Linked DNA regions of Homo sapiens: all the other regions are linked to region 1. Evidence: promoter capture Hi-C in human tissues and cell types (Jung and others, 2019). All regions are on one chromosome and are shown on one strand. Each heading gives the region's core, a stretch centred on a gene start or on the middle of the fragment in contact. The rest is flanking DNA. Distances are from core to core; before and after follow the strand shown.

Region 1 (4,594 bases), core at 730-3,229:
AGGAAAGGGGGGAGGTGCAGAGATCATCCCCTGCCGCCCACTGCCCCCTTTGTGAAGGGCATCTTGGAGCCAGATGAGTGCCTTCAGGCCTGGATCACACATAGTGGAGTGAATGGACCACTTGAAACAATCATGAGAACCATTGTGGCCATGCCTCTGCCAAGAGCTGCTGACGTGTGCCCTCTGAACTGTGCCTGGGAGCTGCCTACCTTGCACTGTGTGTTCTGCCTGCTCTGCCCACGCACAACAGGACCTCCAGCTGGGCCTAGTGGCCAGAGACGCTGACTGCACAGTAGCCCTGTTTTGGTGTCTGGAAAGGTTTTGTAGCCAGAAAAAAAATGTGTGCTCAAGCCTTTCCCAGCTATGCTGCTCAGCTCTCTCTCTGACCGCAGCCCCTTCAGGACCCAGTTCCAGGGAATCACCCCCAACCCAGACCACCTGCTCCTCCTTCTCTTGGCCTCTGGGCCCTGCATCAGGAGCACCCTGCCAGAGCACTGCTCCTCTTGGACACTCATTCTAGTCCATTTTCCCAGACTTCCTCTTGTAGGAATTCTGGCCTTCCCACAGCTGGGCTAGGACTCTTGAAACCATGCCCCAGCTCTCCCAGCCCCTCCCATGCTCTTATTTTTTCCTGTTGCTGGCCCCATGCGCCCTTCTCCTTGAATCGGTGTCTTTTCCTATAAGGGGGTTTTCTACTCCATGTTTTTCCCTAAGTTTACCACCCCCTTCCTGCAGCTGCTCCCCCGCCTGGACCTGGTTTGCCTTTTCAACAGGTGCTTTTAAGTCATGAGATGCTGTAGTCTCAAAATCAAGCCTGCATCAGAATCATTCTAGTTGCTTATCAGTGTGTTGAATCCCAAGCCACACCCCCACCCCCAAGAGGTCTGAGGAGACGAAGGTGAGCCTGGGAATTGGCATGTTTAATAAATACACTCCAGCACCCACCCACCTGCTGGCAGTCACAGGCAGGTGGTCCAAGGGTCCTCTTGGAGAATACCATGCAGCAGCCACTCCAGTGGGAAGCCCGAAGCCTCCTTTCTGCCATGGTCTGGCACATGGAGGTTTACTGAATACTTGATGAGTGAACGGATGACAGATAGGAGAAGATGAGGATGACATGTGGAAGTGTTCTGGCCACTCAGGAGATAAAGGAACAAGATTCAAGTCGTTAGAAGCCCCTCACTGAAAACCCTAATAAGGAGAGGCACAAGCTTTCAGATTAAGTAATAATCATTTATAGTCATTTAATCTAGTAATAATTAGAATAATCTACTATGTGTTAGATTTTAAAAGTTTTCAGTGGCAGCCCAGTGACCAATCCAGCCTGGCAGACGTTTTGTTTAGCCAACAGTGCTTTGACAAGGTCTGATCCGACATTTTAAACTTGGGAGATTTCACAGAAATCCAGACTTTTTGCCTGTCTTGGGAAAGTTAGGAGTCCTGCAATAATGGACCTGCATTTCACTTGTAGCAGTTATTGGTTGGAGCTGCCATCACTGCATGCTTAGGATGCAGTAAGCTGCATCCAGTTTGCCGCAGTCCCCAGCACCCCCACCAAGTGTGGACGTGGGCACCCACAGCTGGTATTACAGGACCTGGGGACCCAGCTGGCTCCTGGAGGGGGTCTGTGACTTCAGATATATGAACACCGATCCTGGGGGTAATTTTTGTCCCATCTATTTTTCTAACTTAACAGAATTATCTCCATCTTACAAGAAAAAGGGTCAGAGGGGTGTCATGAACCCAATAGCTACTGGACTGAGATTCAAGCCCAGGCCTGCCTGGAAACCTGGGCTTTTTAATTCTCAGCCAGACTGTCTGTCTCACTGCCTCACTTCCCACCCTTTCATCCAGAACAGCTCTCCCTCAAAGTGTCCCCTGCATGCTTTGCCTGAAGTACACTGTGACTTCTTTGTTATGTCACAGCTTAGTCACAGTTGGGCTGAGAGCAGAGCATGGCCCAGCCTGCCAGGTCCCATGGGGCAGCCCTGCCAGCCCAGCCCAGGCTGGCCCAGCTTAGCCACACATGCGCCATGAAGTACCCTTTGATGCCGCTGGTGAACGACCTCACATTTTCTTTCCTGGTTTTCTGGTTCTGCCTCCCTGTGGGTTTGCTGTTGTTATTGATCATCTGGCTACGCTTCTTACTTAGCCAAGGTGAGCTTCTTACCCCGTCCAGGCAGGACCCTAATCCTGGAGCTAGGCAGGGGGCCAAATAGGCCAGTGTGTCCTGAAACAACTGCAGAAGGGGCTTCCTTCAGTCATTTTAAGTGCTCGCTTAGATACAAGCAGTCAACTCTTAAGTGGAAAGGATTGGTTTGGTTGTTTAGGGTTTCTTAACCTAGAGTTCGAGAGTGAGTCCTAGAGTTTGAACCTAGAGTTCGAGAGTGAGTCCTAGAGTTTGAACCTAGAGTTTGAGAGTGAGTCCTAGAGTTTGAACCTAGAGTTCGAGAGTGATCTTTTGAACAAATCAGAGGTTATCGCTCCAGGCAGATGAACTTCCAGGTGCCCCTTTCAGCTGGGGTGCAAGGCTCTGTGAGCAGAGCGTGGGCTGGATTTCAGCCCCGCTCACCCTCTCAATTGGCTGCTTTTGTGCAGTAAACAGCTTGCACGATGGGATACAGCAGCCTTAGGCATTTTTCAGATACCTGCAGACCACTCACTGTTTCTGCCTAAGCCATGTATCAGAAAGGATCTGGCTGCTTTGGGAGACAGGCTCATGGAAGCCAGCTGACATTCACCCTGACCTCAGCATGCCACCAAGAGGAGCAAGAGGTGGGACGAAGCTGGCTGTGGAGGAAGCTGGGGGTGGCTGGATCAGGATATGGCCTGGCTGTGTGGCAGGAGTGGGACTTCTGCTCCTCTGGCATGTGTCTCCCTGAGCATCCCCTTCAGCAAGAGGTCTCTTCCTGCTGGACACAGTGGCTCACACCTGTAATCCCAGCACTTTGGGAAGCCAAGGTGGCCAGGTTGCTTGAGCCCAGGAGTTTGAGACCAGGCTGGGCAACGTCCCTACAAGGAATACAAAAATTAGCCAGGTGTGGTGGCATGCATCTGTGGTCCCAGCTACTGAGGAGGCTGAGGTGGGAGAATTGCTTGAGCCTGGGAGGTCGAGGCTGCAGTGAGCCGAGATCACACCACTGTATTCCAGCAGACAGAGTGAGACCCTGTGTCAAAAAAAGGCCTCTTCGTGGGGACCACTTGACCTCCTACCTCCTGCTGCTGAGTGCCATGACCTTTGGCAAGCTAGGCAGGGAGGGCGCAGCACATGCCGCCAGCAATGGTCAGATGTTGTTGAGGCAGGGTGAGAAGTCCCTCCCCACACCCCTGCTAGCCCCATGATCTCAAATGTAGGGGCTTATAATTATGTAATTATTGGGAGTTCCTGGCAAGAACTTGGGATGTCCTTTTGTTTCTAGAAAGTGTTTATTTAAAGTATATTCTCCTCATAGTCCTAGGGTAGACCACAGCCCTCCCTGAGGGGCACGGTTTAGGCATTGGGCCCCACAGCTGGTAGGGAGTCAGCCTTGTTTGCATACTGGCGATAAAAGTTGTCTCTCTGGAGTCTGGAAGATATGAGTTCAGATATCATCCTTTTTTTTTTATTTTTATTTTTTGAAACAGAGTCTTACTCTTGTCAGCCAGGCTGGAGTGCAGTGGCACAATCTCGGCTCACTGCAACCTCTGCCTCCTGGCTTCAAGCGATTCTCCTGCCTCAGCCTCCCAAGTAGCGGGGATTACAGGTGCCCGCCATCACACCTGTCTAATTTTTGTATTTTTAGTAGAGATGGGGTTTCACCATGTTAGCCAGGCTGGTCTCGAACTCCTGAGCTCAGGTGATCCACCCGCCTCAGCCTCTCAAAGTGATGGGATTACAGGCATGAGCCACCGCACCCAGCCTCATCCTTGCTTCTTAATAGTTCCTAATAATAGTGAACCTGTTTGGAACACTGACTATATACCAGACCTTGTGCTAAACACTGGACTTGCATAATCTTATGTAATCCTCATAATAACCCTGCTTAATAATACTTAATAATATCACAATTGGGGAAACTGAGGCTAGGAGAGGAGAAGCAACCTGTCCAAGGTCATACATCTGTGAACTACTTAAGAGAGCCAATTGTCTGCCTTCAAATCCTGACTCTGCCACCTACCAGCTGCATGACTGTGGACACCTCTCTGAGCCTTGCTTTTCTCATCTACAAAATGGAGACAACACTAGTACCTGCCCCTTGGGGTTGTGACAGGCTTCAGTGGTCGATGCATATCGGGTACTTACAGGGCAGGGCACACAGTACGCATACACACCTGGCACATCGTAGGTTCCTGTAGGCTGAGAAAATAGTCCAGCCAATGCTGGTTTTGTCAATGTGGGAGGAAATGCAGGTGGTGTGGCTTTGGATGCCTTCTCCAGAGAGGAGACATTTCTCCTACCACCCAGGCCAAGGCCTGCAGCATGAGTCTCCTCCAGCATTCACTCTGCTTGGAGGCCCAACTCCAAAACCATCCACAACCTACCCCACTCCAACCCCTCCGCAGACTTTCTCCTGAGAGGCTGTTTACTGGTGTCATGTGGCGTTTTGAAATAAGT
Region 2 (4,594 bases), core at 1,327-3,826, 220 kb after region 1:
TCTCTTCTTATGAGGACACCAGTCATTGGATGAGGGCCCCATCCAAGGGCCTCAGTTTAAGATGATCACCTCTTTAAAGACCTTATCTCCATCCACAGTTACATTCTGAGGTTCTGAGACTGTAACCAGTACAGTTCAGCATATGAATGGGGGTGAGGGGGCACACAATTCAGCTTATAACAGTTATTTTTTCACTCTCTTTTTGTTCTTTTTATGTTTAATTTTTTTTTTTTTTTTTTTTTAGAGACAGGGTCTTGCTCTGTCACCCAGGCGGGAGTACAGTAGCACCATCATAGCTCACTGCAGCCTTGAACTCCTAGGCAAAAGCAATCCTCTTAAATAGCTAGGACTACAATCATGAACCACTACGTCTGCCTAATTTTAAAAGAATTTGTAGAGACAGAGTTTCACTATGTTGCCCTGGCTGGTCTTGAGCTCCTGGCCTCAAGTAATCCTCCTATCTCCACCTCCCAAAATGCTGGGATTATAGGTGTGAGCCACCAGGCCCAGCCATAACTTTTCACTTTCTTGATGATACCCCTGAAAGCACAAAAGTTTTTAATTTATCTATTTTTTTTTCTTTTGTTGCTTGTGCTAATATCTAAGCAACTACTGTTTAATCCAAAGTCATGAAGATTTAGGCTTATGTTTTCTTCAGAGAGTTTTATAGTTTTAGCTCTTACATTTAGATCTATATGTTGCATATAGTATGAAGCAGGGATCCAAATTCATTCTTTTGCATGTGGATATCCAGTTGTCCCAGCACCATTTTTTGAAAACACTATTCTTTCCCCATTAAATTGTCTTGGCACTCTTGTTGAAAATCAATTGGCAGTAAGTGTAAGGGCTTCTGTCTGGACTCTCAGTTTTATTCCATTGGTCTGTATGCCCATCCTTATACCCGTACCACCCTGCCTTGATGACTGAAGTTTCCTAGTAAGTTTTGAAATCAGGACTTGTGAGTCCCCCAACTTATTCTGAATTTACTTTAACTTTTGATACCGAACACAGTGTGAGAGGTGAATGAACAGCATGACATTGGAGTTGGGAGCCCCCTCCCTCCAAAGGCCTTATTTTAGGAACACAGGCCCCAAGTGCCACACAAGCCTTGGAGAGATGGGTTCCCATCCTCTCAGCCCATGGCTCTTCATTATCAATCAATGGAAACATTCTTCGGAGAACAATGATTCCCTTGGGTTATTTTAAACATGGCTTTAAGTCTTCCCCACATGCTCTACTGTCTAATTGCTTTTCCTGAAACAGTGTCATTCACAACTGGATTATTAATGAACTGAGAGGGAGCCAGGGAGCCAATGAAGGGGGCTTACAGAGTTCCTGGAGAGGGCCTGGGGGCCTGGAACAAGTTCAACCCACAGATTTTCTCTCCCCCAAGAAAGGTGACTGAGCAAACAGAAAATCACTAAACTCAGGTGATGCTGGTGGCCTCAAAAGAATATTGCCAGTGAAAAAAAAAGGATTCGGGCGAGTTCCTCAAACATGACAGCTGAGAATCAAATTAACTGGGTACCATCCCCAAACTCCCCAAACTTAAACTCTGAATTTCCCCAGCTGGCTGGCCCTGGGGTGCCTAGGGCTCTCATCTGTAGGCCGGGAAAGCTCAGGAAACAAGGCCTTTGTGGAGAAGAGAAACCTATTGTTCTAAGGCCAGGGTTCAGCAAATGTGGATTCCAGAGAATGTTTGGGGAGGTTTTCTCTGCTTTGTTTATGAACTTTCTTTTCTCTTCCTGGGGTGGTGATGGTGGGGGGTGACTCTCAGCAACTTAAATAGTTAAACCCATTGTGTTGTAAAGAAAGGCTGGTGCACAGAGTGCAGAGGCCTTCAGCCCCAGAAAGAGGCTTGAATGAGGTGACAGAAGCCACCGGGTATGTTTTGCTTTTTATTTTTAGCGTTAAATCTCAGGGAAGCAGCCCCTATCTTCATCCTGCACATCTCAAAGGGCGTCAGACGTCAGCAGAGGTACGACCACTTCCTTCCTCCAGCGCTTCACCTCCCTTCTTTCCAGAAAGAGGAAATGATGCGAGTCCACACCGCAGGCCACAGCCCCCATGTCTCGGCCCCAGCAGCTGGGGGACCTGGCCCCACAGATCTGTCCCCAGCGCAAGGCCAGGGCCGGCCCCTGGACCTCCTGGGAAGCCTTCAGACTCAGGCCGCGCAGGCCTTCAAGCTAGGAACCCTGAGTTCCTGGCCCTGGCATTCATTCTGTGTGACCTTGAGCAGGTTACCACTCCTCTCTGGGCTTCAGGATTCCCGTCTGTCAAATGGGAGCAGGGATACCGTCCTTGGCTTCCCTCTTTCCATGGTCGGGGTGGGGGTTAGGAAAACTATTTTGGAGGAGGGGGCAGCGTTAGGAAAACTATTCCGAAGCCTGGCCACGTCCCAACCGGTTTCAACTTCCTGCAGCTCAGAAGAGGGGTCCCCACCCGAGAGCGCCGGGACCCTGTCCCGCGCTGCCTCCCAAGCCGGATGGGGTTGAGCGCGCCCACCCCAGTCCCAGGAGCTCAGGCCCCGCCTTGGGGGAGGAGCCGAGAGGCGGCGCGGAGGCTCGCGGCCGAGCAGAGCCAGCTCTGTCGCCGCTGGAGCAGCTGCGGCTCGGGGACCCACAGACACAGCCGGGGTCGGGAGCCGCCCGGGGCAGGGCTCGGGAGAGCGGGTGAGTTCCCCGGCGGCGCCACCACCCTCCTTGCGCTCTGCGGCTTCGCAGGGCGGGGGATGAGGATGGGGCGGGGAGGTGGTCCCAGCCTGCTATCACCTAGCTGGGGGCCGGGGCGCTTTGGCCAAGGGACGATAGCTTGAGATAAATGGGAGTGTGGGGACTCTGGAAAGACGGGTACCGAGAGCGCTAGGTCCGGGAGTCGGGCTGGAATGGGGGCGTTCTCCCCGGCCTCGCAATTCCTTGACGAGGCCAGGGGAGGGGGCGCATTGGCAGGTTGTTGGCTGCGGCCGTCGTAGACCGATCTTGGGGCGGGGAGGTGGGGTCCTCGGTCTGTTCTGGACTCATGGGGCCGCCGTCTGCCGGGGGTGCAATGCCGGGCGGCGGGAGCCACAGCGGACACCAAACAACCCCCCCCCGCGCACTCTCCCGGCCGGGCATGGTGGTGCCGCCCCCTCGCGTGGCGGGGCTTGGTCCTGGCGGGCAGCGGCAGGGCGCAGAGAGCGCTCCTGCCCGGGCGGGAAAGATCCCCAAGGCAGGCGCCTCCACCTGCAGACCCGCCCCGCCTCAGGATCCGGCTGACAGCACCAGCCAGCCCGGGGAGACCCCGCGAGTGGTAGTTCCCCGGGAGGGGCGCGCCCGGCCTCTCCCAGGGCCCCGTGCGCCGGCGGCTGGGTCCCCCGCGCCAGGAGCGCTCCCCTCTGGGCGACTCCGGCTCATCGATTCCGGCCCAGAGGAGCGCCCCCGGGCGCCGAGGATGGGCGGAGACGTGCAGCCGCCCCTGAGAGGTCGCCCAGAGGGGTCTCCCCAAGGTCACCCGGAGTGCCCAGGCTGAGCTGCCCAGACCGCCCCGGGTGGAGAGCCGGGAGGCAGGCGCTCGCTGCCCTCCTCCTTCCCCCATGTAGACTCCCTTCCTCCGCTCCCCCACCCCGGCCCGGCCTCCAGCTTCACTGGAGATGCTGATGATGCAGCTCCCAGCCCTTGGAGGATAATTGAGCCTGGGAGAGCTTTGAATCTGGCCCTCCTGAGACCCCAGGGCTGCGCCGCTGCCGCGCGCCAGGCCTGGGTCCCGGTGCTCCCGGGCACCTCAGGAGCGGAGGGAGAGGGATGTGGCTTCATCAGCGCTTCTAGGAACCGAAAACCGAGCTGCCTGCGCGCCCATGTGATTGCATTTCACATAAAGGGCCCCTGTTTTCACTGTCAGAAGAGCCCCCCAGCTCTCCGCGGCTCTGGACACCAGGTGCCGCCTCTGAATCACCCTCTGTGGAGGACCCGGGGCCCGGAGGTACAGGCGCCCTTTCCCGCAGGGCTCTCCCTGGAAAGGGCCTGCCGATGGCGGCCTCAGTCCGCAGGGGTACTTCCCTGTGTACCCTGCCATTTCCTGCGGCTGGTGAAGCACCGGAGAAAAACCGTCCATCTAGGAGGCCTCCTCCAAGGCTGGTAATAAAGCTTCTTAGCCCAGCCAGCGACTAGCTGTCTACTCGTGGGCAAGGTACTTGGCTTCTGGAGTCTCAACTGCCTCTAAGATACGGGGCTAACAGCCGCCAGGCTGTGGGGAGATGAGGGAGAGGCTGGGTGCAGCAGAGCGGGAGGATGAACACTCCTTGGCCAATACTGGCCGCCCTCGGGATTGGCTTTGAGTGGGGCGTGTCTCTCTTAGACAGGTGCAGAAGTGGAGCCCTGGTGGGTGGTTCTGCAGGGGCTGGGGGAGTTTCCACATCTTCCTCCCCCAGCTCTGTCATAAAAAGCCAGCTTGCAGGAGGCCGGTGGGGGCCAGCAAATCCTTCCAGCCGGCTGCCTGCTCACACGGCCCTTCCCACACAAATCTCCCATGCCCTTCTCTCCCACCTGTCACCCAAATCCCATCTTCCTGGCTGAGTCCCCAGGATGCTGGGGGCAAGATGTCAACCAGGCCACCCTGG
Region 3 (4,594 bases), core at 1,323-3,822, 180 kb after region 1:
AAAAGAGCTTAGGCCCCAGCATCTTAGTTCCTGTATGGCAAAGGGGCAGCCTGCAGGTCACTCCTCAGTCCAGAAGTCGCTGGTTGAGTCGCCTGCCTTTAGAACTGAAACAAAGAGTAAGTGTACATCCTGTTCCTGGATCTGTCATCCCTAGAATTCCAAAACAAAGGAACTTACTGCCTTGAGACATGTTTTAGGCAGGATAAACCAGACTAGCCTCTTGTTTTTTGTTTTTTGTTTTTTCCTTTTTAAATCAGCTTTCATTAAGCTGTTGATTACTTATCCTTTCAGAAAAAAAATGATACTTTGGAAAAATGCAAGTCAGTGCCATTTGATGCTGGGTGTAGCATAGTGCTTATCAGTGATGTCAGAGTTGCCTTTGGCTCAACAGGAAGCTTGCTTTTGCAGTGATGGGCTCCCAGCTGGAGGCTCGCTCAAGGTTCTGCTCTCACCGTTGCATCCTCTACATCTCATTCCCAGGCTGTCGATTATGTGAGGACAGTACATGAGTGTATGCTTTATAGAGCAGATCCTGAGATAGGCTTACTAGATACACCTTATTGGATCACCAAGATCTTGTGTAGAAGGGGCCTTTACCATCTTCTTCCAACACAGCATCCCAGATCAGCCTCAGTTGAATCAGTGTGTGCCTTTTCCATTTTGCTTCTCTTGGTTTTTCAGGTCTTTGAGATTTGAGTTGTTGTTTACTGAAATCCGGAACCATGTTGTCTTTGTTATGTATTCATCCATATTTAGTTTTTATCATGCTTGACATGTTAGCAGGACATAGTTTTCTTTATACCAGAGCAGTGCCACTCAGCCACAAGCAGATGAGGGATTTCAGATTTCAAAAAGGGAAAAAAAACCAAACAGCTGTGAAGATGTGATTCTTCAGCAGTGGGGAAACTAGTTTTTCCTTTTCTTTGTTCATTTGTCTGCATTTGTTACATGATGTGATTCATCACCCATTCCCCCATTCTTTCAGCAGATACTCAGTAGGTACCTACTTCATTTTATGCTCTGGTACACACATTTAAATCTCCTTGGGTTTAGGGGATTTTGAAATGCCGGACTGCAAAAGATTTTTCTATATGCAACAAATTTGATGATCAGTTGGGCCGGGCACGGTGGCTCACGCCTGTAATCCCAGCACTTTGGGAGGCCGAGGTGGGTGGATCACCTGAGGTCAGGAATTCGAGACCAGCCTGACCAACATGGTGAAACCCTGTCTCTACTGAAAATAGAAAAATTAGCCGGGCGTCGGGGCAGGCGCCTGTAATCCCAGCTACTCGGGAGGCTGAGGCAGGAGAATCGCTTGAACCCAGGAGGCGGAGGTTGCAGTGAGCTGAGATTGTGACATTGCACTCCAGCCTGGGCAACAGAGCAAGACCCCGTCTCAAAAAAAAAAAAAAGTGATGATCAGTCGTCAAAGCTTTAATGGTTAGTCAGCATTCAGCATTTTAGGGTAATTCTTAATGATCAGAGTCAATTACAGTCACATTTGTGGGATAAACTTGACCATGACAATGGCTAGCCAGTTCTACCATTCAAAAAGTATTTGTAGAGTTTCCAATAATATAATTCATTTAGAATGAATTGAATCAATATATGTGAACCAAAATTCATATTGAAATTGCACTTAAGCAGTAATGGCTGAACTGAATTAATACAGCTGGAATTTAACTAATAGAGGTCTCGAAAATCTATTTTTTCTTATAGACCAATCTATTCTGACCCTTGCTATTCTGCAGTTGTTTCTGTGAGGATGTTGTGAAGGAGCAGGCTTTGTTAGCATTTTTACCAAGTATTTAAACCAGAAGATGCTTGCTTTTCATAGCTACAAGCACAGCATAAGAGGGTAGGAGGGGGGAGAACACAGGTTTTGAGCATCATCATTTGTTGGAAAACGCAATGGGCCAAATATAGAAAGTTCTCCGGCTTTACTAGCCAAGATCAGGGTTGGCCTCTGCTTCTTCTTATGCCGCTCAAGGCTGTTTTAGGGAACCATGCTGCATCTTCTGTGGTATGCCTTGGCAAACTGTCATTCCCTGCAGTTCCAAAAGAACAGTCATATTAGTGTTTCTGAACGCCACATAAGACATGTGGAGACCCTGGCAAACTCTAGCGAGAGAGAAGCCAGCCGTGGCAGAGAAAACTATTCTCTGTTGGATGCCTGTTCTCTGTGTTGAAATGATCAGCTTTGTTCCTCTCTGCGACTTGTATGAATTGGGATAAATAAATGTCCTTTTTATAATTTTTGTGAAGCTAAGAAGTTATCTTAAGATGGTATGCTTTGGAGTGAAGCTAGGTGAAGGTGAATGTTGATTTTTTTTTGGCAGCTGAAGAAACCTCTTGAAACCCAAAGCTTTACAATCATCTCTATTTCAGGGGAATTTGAGGGTGTATCCCAGGGGCCCACCACTCAGTGACAGGTGCAGTATACCAGGGATGCAGAGGTGATTAAGATACAATGCCTGCCTTCCTGGGTACCTCAAAAACAAAAAATGAGGGCTATAGCACCATGCTTAGCTGACTGTAATGAAGCGTAGCAGGTATGGTGGTAAATGTGTGTGGGAATACACATTTGGTTTTTTGAGAAGGACTGGATGTTTCAGCTGGGCCTTGAAAGATTATTTGGGCCGGGCACAGTGGCTCACATCTGTAATCCCAACACTGAGAGGCTGAGGAGGGAAGATCACTTGTGCCCAGCGCTTTGAGACCAATCCCTGAGTCACATAGACCCCATCTCTAAAAAAAATTTTTTTAATTAGCTGGGCATGCATCTGTAGTCTCTGCTTGAGAGGCTGAGGTGGGAGGATCACTTGAGCTTGGGAGTTCGAGGCTGCAGTGAGCCATGGTTGTGCCACTGCATTCCAACCTGGGCAACAGAACAAGACCCTGTCTAAAAAAAAAAAAAGAAAAGGAAGATTATTTGATTTCAGTAGGTAGCAAAAGGAGGAGGGAAGGACATTTTAGGTGGAAAGAACCACACATGCAGGCATATAGAGTGTGAACAAGAAAAGCTGTGGTGGGTGATGAAGTGGAGATGACTATTAAGTTCTTTACCCATCAGTCTTATGAGCCTGCATATTATCCTTCAGACATTCGGAGCCTTCCAGGGATGTTGAGCAAGGGAATGAGACGATGAGATTTTGTTTTGGGAAACTAACTGGTGGCAGTTAGGATGATGGGTTGAAGGGAGGGGTGAGACTGCAGGTGGGAAAACAAAACAGATGTAGGATCAGATGTAGGATCCCAAGATCTCGCTGCCATTTGCAAGCCAAGGTGACAAGAGTAGCAGTGTTGATAATAGAGCATGTGGCATGTGCCGACTCCTTGCTGAGCACCTACGTAGGTGTCCTCCTGGTTCGTGTTCACAACTCAATGGGTAGGTACTATCATTATCCCCCTTTTACAGACAAGGAAAGATTTGGAGTGAGGTCACATAGCTAGAAGTAGTGCTGATCAAATTCACACACAGGCAGTTCAATTCCAGATTCCACCCTTGTAACCCTTAGGCTGTATTGAAAGGCAGTGGGTAGATGGTAGTGCCTTTTGACCAAGTTTGGGAAGATAATTGGCTTAGTTTTGAGCACCTTTTTTTTTTCTTTTTTTTAAGAGATTGGATCTTACTCTGTTGCACAGGCTGGAGTATATGTTGTGATGATGGCTCACTGTAATTTATCCTTCAGACATTCGGAGCCTTCCAGGGATGTTGAGCAAGGGAATGAGACGATGAGATTTTGTTTTGGGAACTCCTGGGCTCAATTGATCCTCCCACCTCAGCCTCCCTAGTAGCTAGGACTACAGGAGTGCACCACCATGCCCGGCTAACTTTTTGCTTTTTAATTTTTTGTAGAGATGGGTCTCACTGTGTTGCCCAGGCTGTTCTCGAACTCCTGGCCTCAAGCAAGCCTCCCACCTTGCCTTTCAAAGTGCAGGGATTACAGGCATGAGTCACCGTGCCTGGCCCTGAGCTCCTTATCTTTAAAATTGTTGTAGGACATCAGGTGGAGCTTTTCAGCACTCTGTGGGACATCAGGTGGAGCTATGGGAGGACAGAATCAAATGGGGAGGAAGAAAAGAAAAATTCCTGGAGAATGCCACCACTTGAAAGTTAGGTGACAGAAGAAAAGCCAGGACGAAGATTGAGCAGGAGCAGTAAGAGATAAAGGAAGCCAAAAGGGTTGATGGGAGAGTTAAAAGCTTGAATGGTCAGCTTAACCTAGGATGAGAATTATTTTTTGAAACAAGGAAAGCTTGAAAGGATAAGAAAATAGGATGTGAGGGTGATCTGGCTGCGATATCTGTCACCCCATTGATTGCCAGGGTTGATTCGGCTGATCTGGCTGGCTAAGCTGGTGTCTTTCTGTCCTCACCACTTCGTGTGTGTCTCTCCCAAAGCTGCATGCTTGGTCGAAGAGGACGACCATCCCCAATAGAGGAGGACTGATCTTCCGTCAAGAGTATACGAGTAGCTGCGCTCCCCTGCTAGAACCTCCAAACAAGCGCTCAAGGACATGAAAATAGATAAGGAAGTAGAATGAAGAATAAAGAGGGAAGTTCATTTTTTGAGGCAACTAAGATGATCTTT

The links. The method cuts DNA at HindIII sites, captures the fragments that hold promoters and counts their contacts. A contact is called where the count stands out against the background at its distance.
Region 2: the fragment with the promoter of PPP1R16B here is called in contact with the fragment with the promoter of ADIG in region 1 in 1 of the 25 tissues and cell types used here (H1 embryonic stem cells).
Region 3: a contact is called between a fragment that was not itself captured here and the fragment with the promoter of ADIG in region 1, in 2 of the 25 tissues and cell types used here (hippocampus and mesenchymal stem cells).

What each region holds. Positions count from the first base shown.
Region 1 is chr20:38,579,218-38,583,811 of GRCh38, forward strand. ADIG (adipogenin) reads left to right here and starts at 1,980. Exons shown (of 3, transcript NM_001393816.1): 1 at 1,980-2,157. The coding sequence starts at 2,034. The HindIII fragment of the contact is 13,860 bases long and covers 1-4,594 here.
Region 2 is chr20:38,803,121-38,807,714 of GRCh38, forward strand. It overlaps PPP1R16B (protein phosphatase 1 regulatory subunit 16B), which reads left to right and starts at 2,577. Exons shown (of 11, transcript NM_015568.4): 1 at 2,577-2,672. RefSeq lists enhancers at 890-1,752, 1,753-2,614, 1,897-2,166, 3,195-4,033 and silencers at 2,427-2,806, 2,997-3,216, 3,277-3,626. The HindIII fragment of the contact is 22,338 bases long and covers 1-4,594 here.
Region 3 is chr20:38,757,249-38,761,842 of GRCh38, forward strand. All of the region lies in intron 5 of ACTR5 (actin related protein 5), which reads left to right. It also overlaps the pseudogene RN7SKP173. Among named protein-coding and RNA genes, the nearest start is that of ACTR5, 11 kb to the left of the region's middle. The HindIII fragment of the contact is 3,319 bases long and covers 914-4,232 here.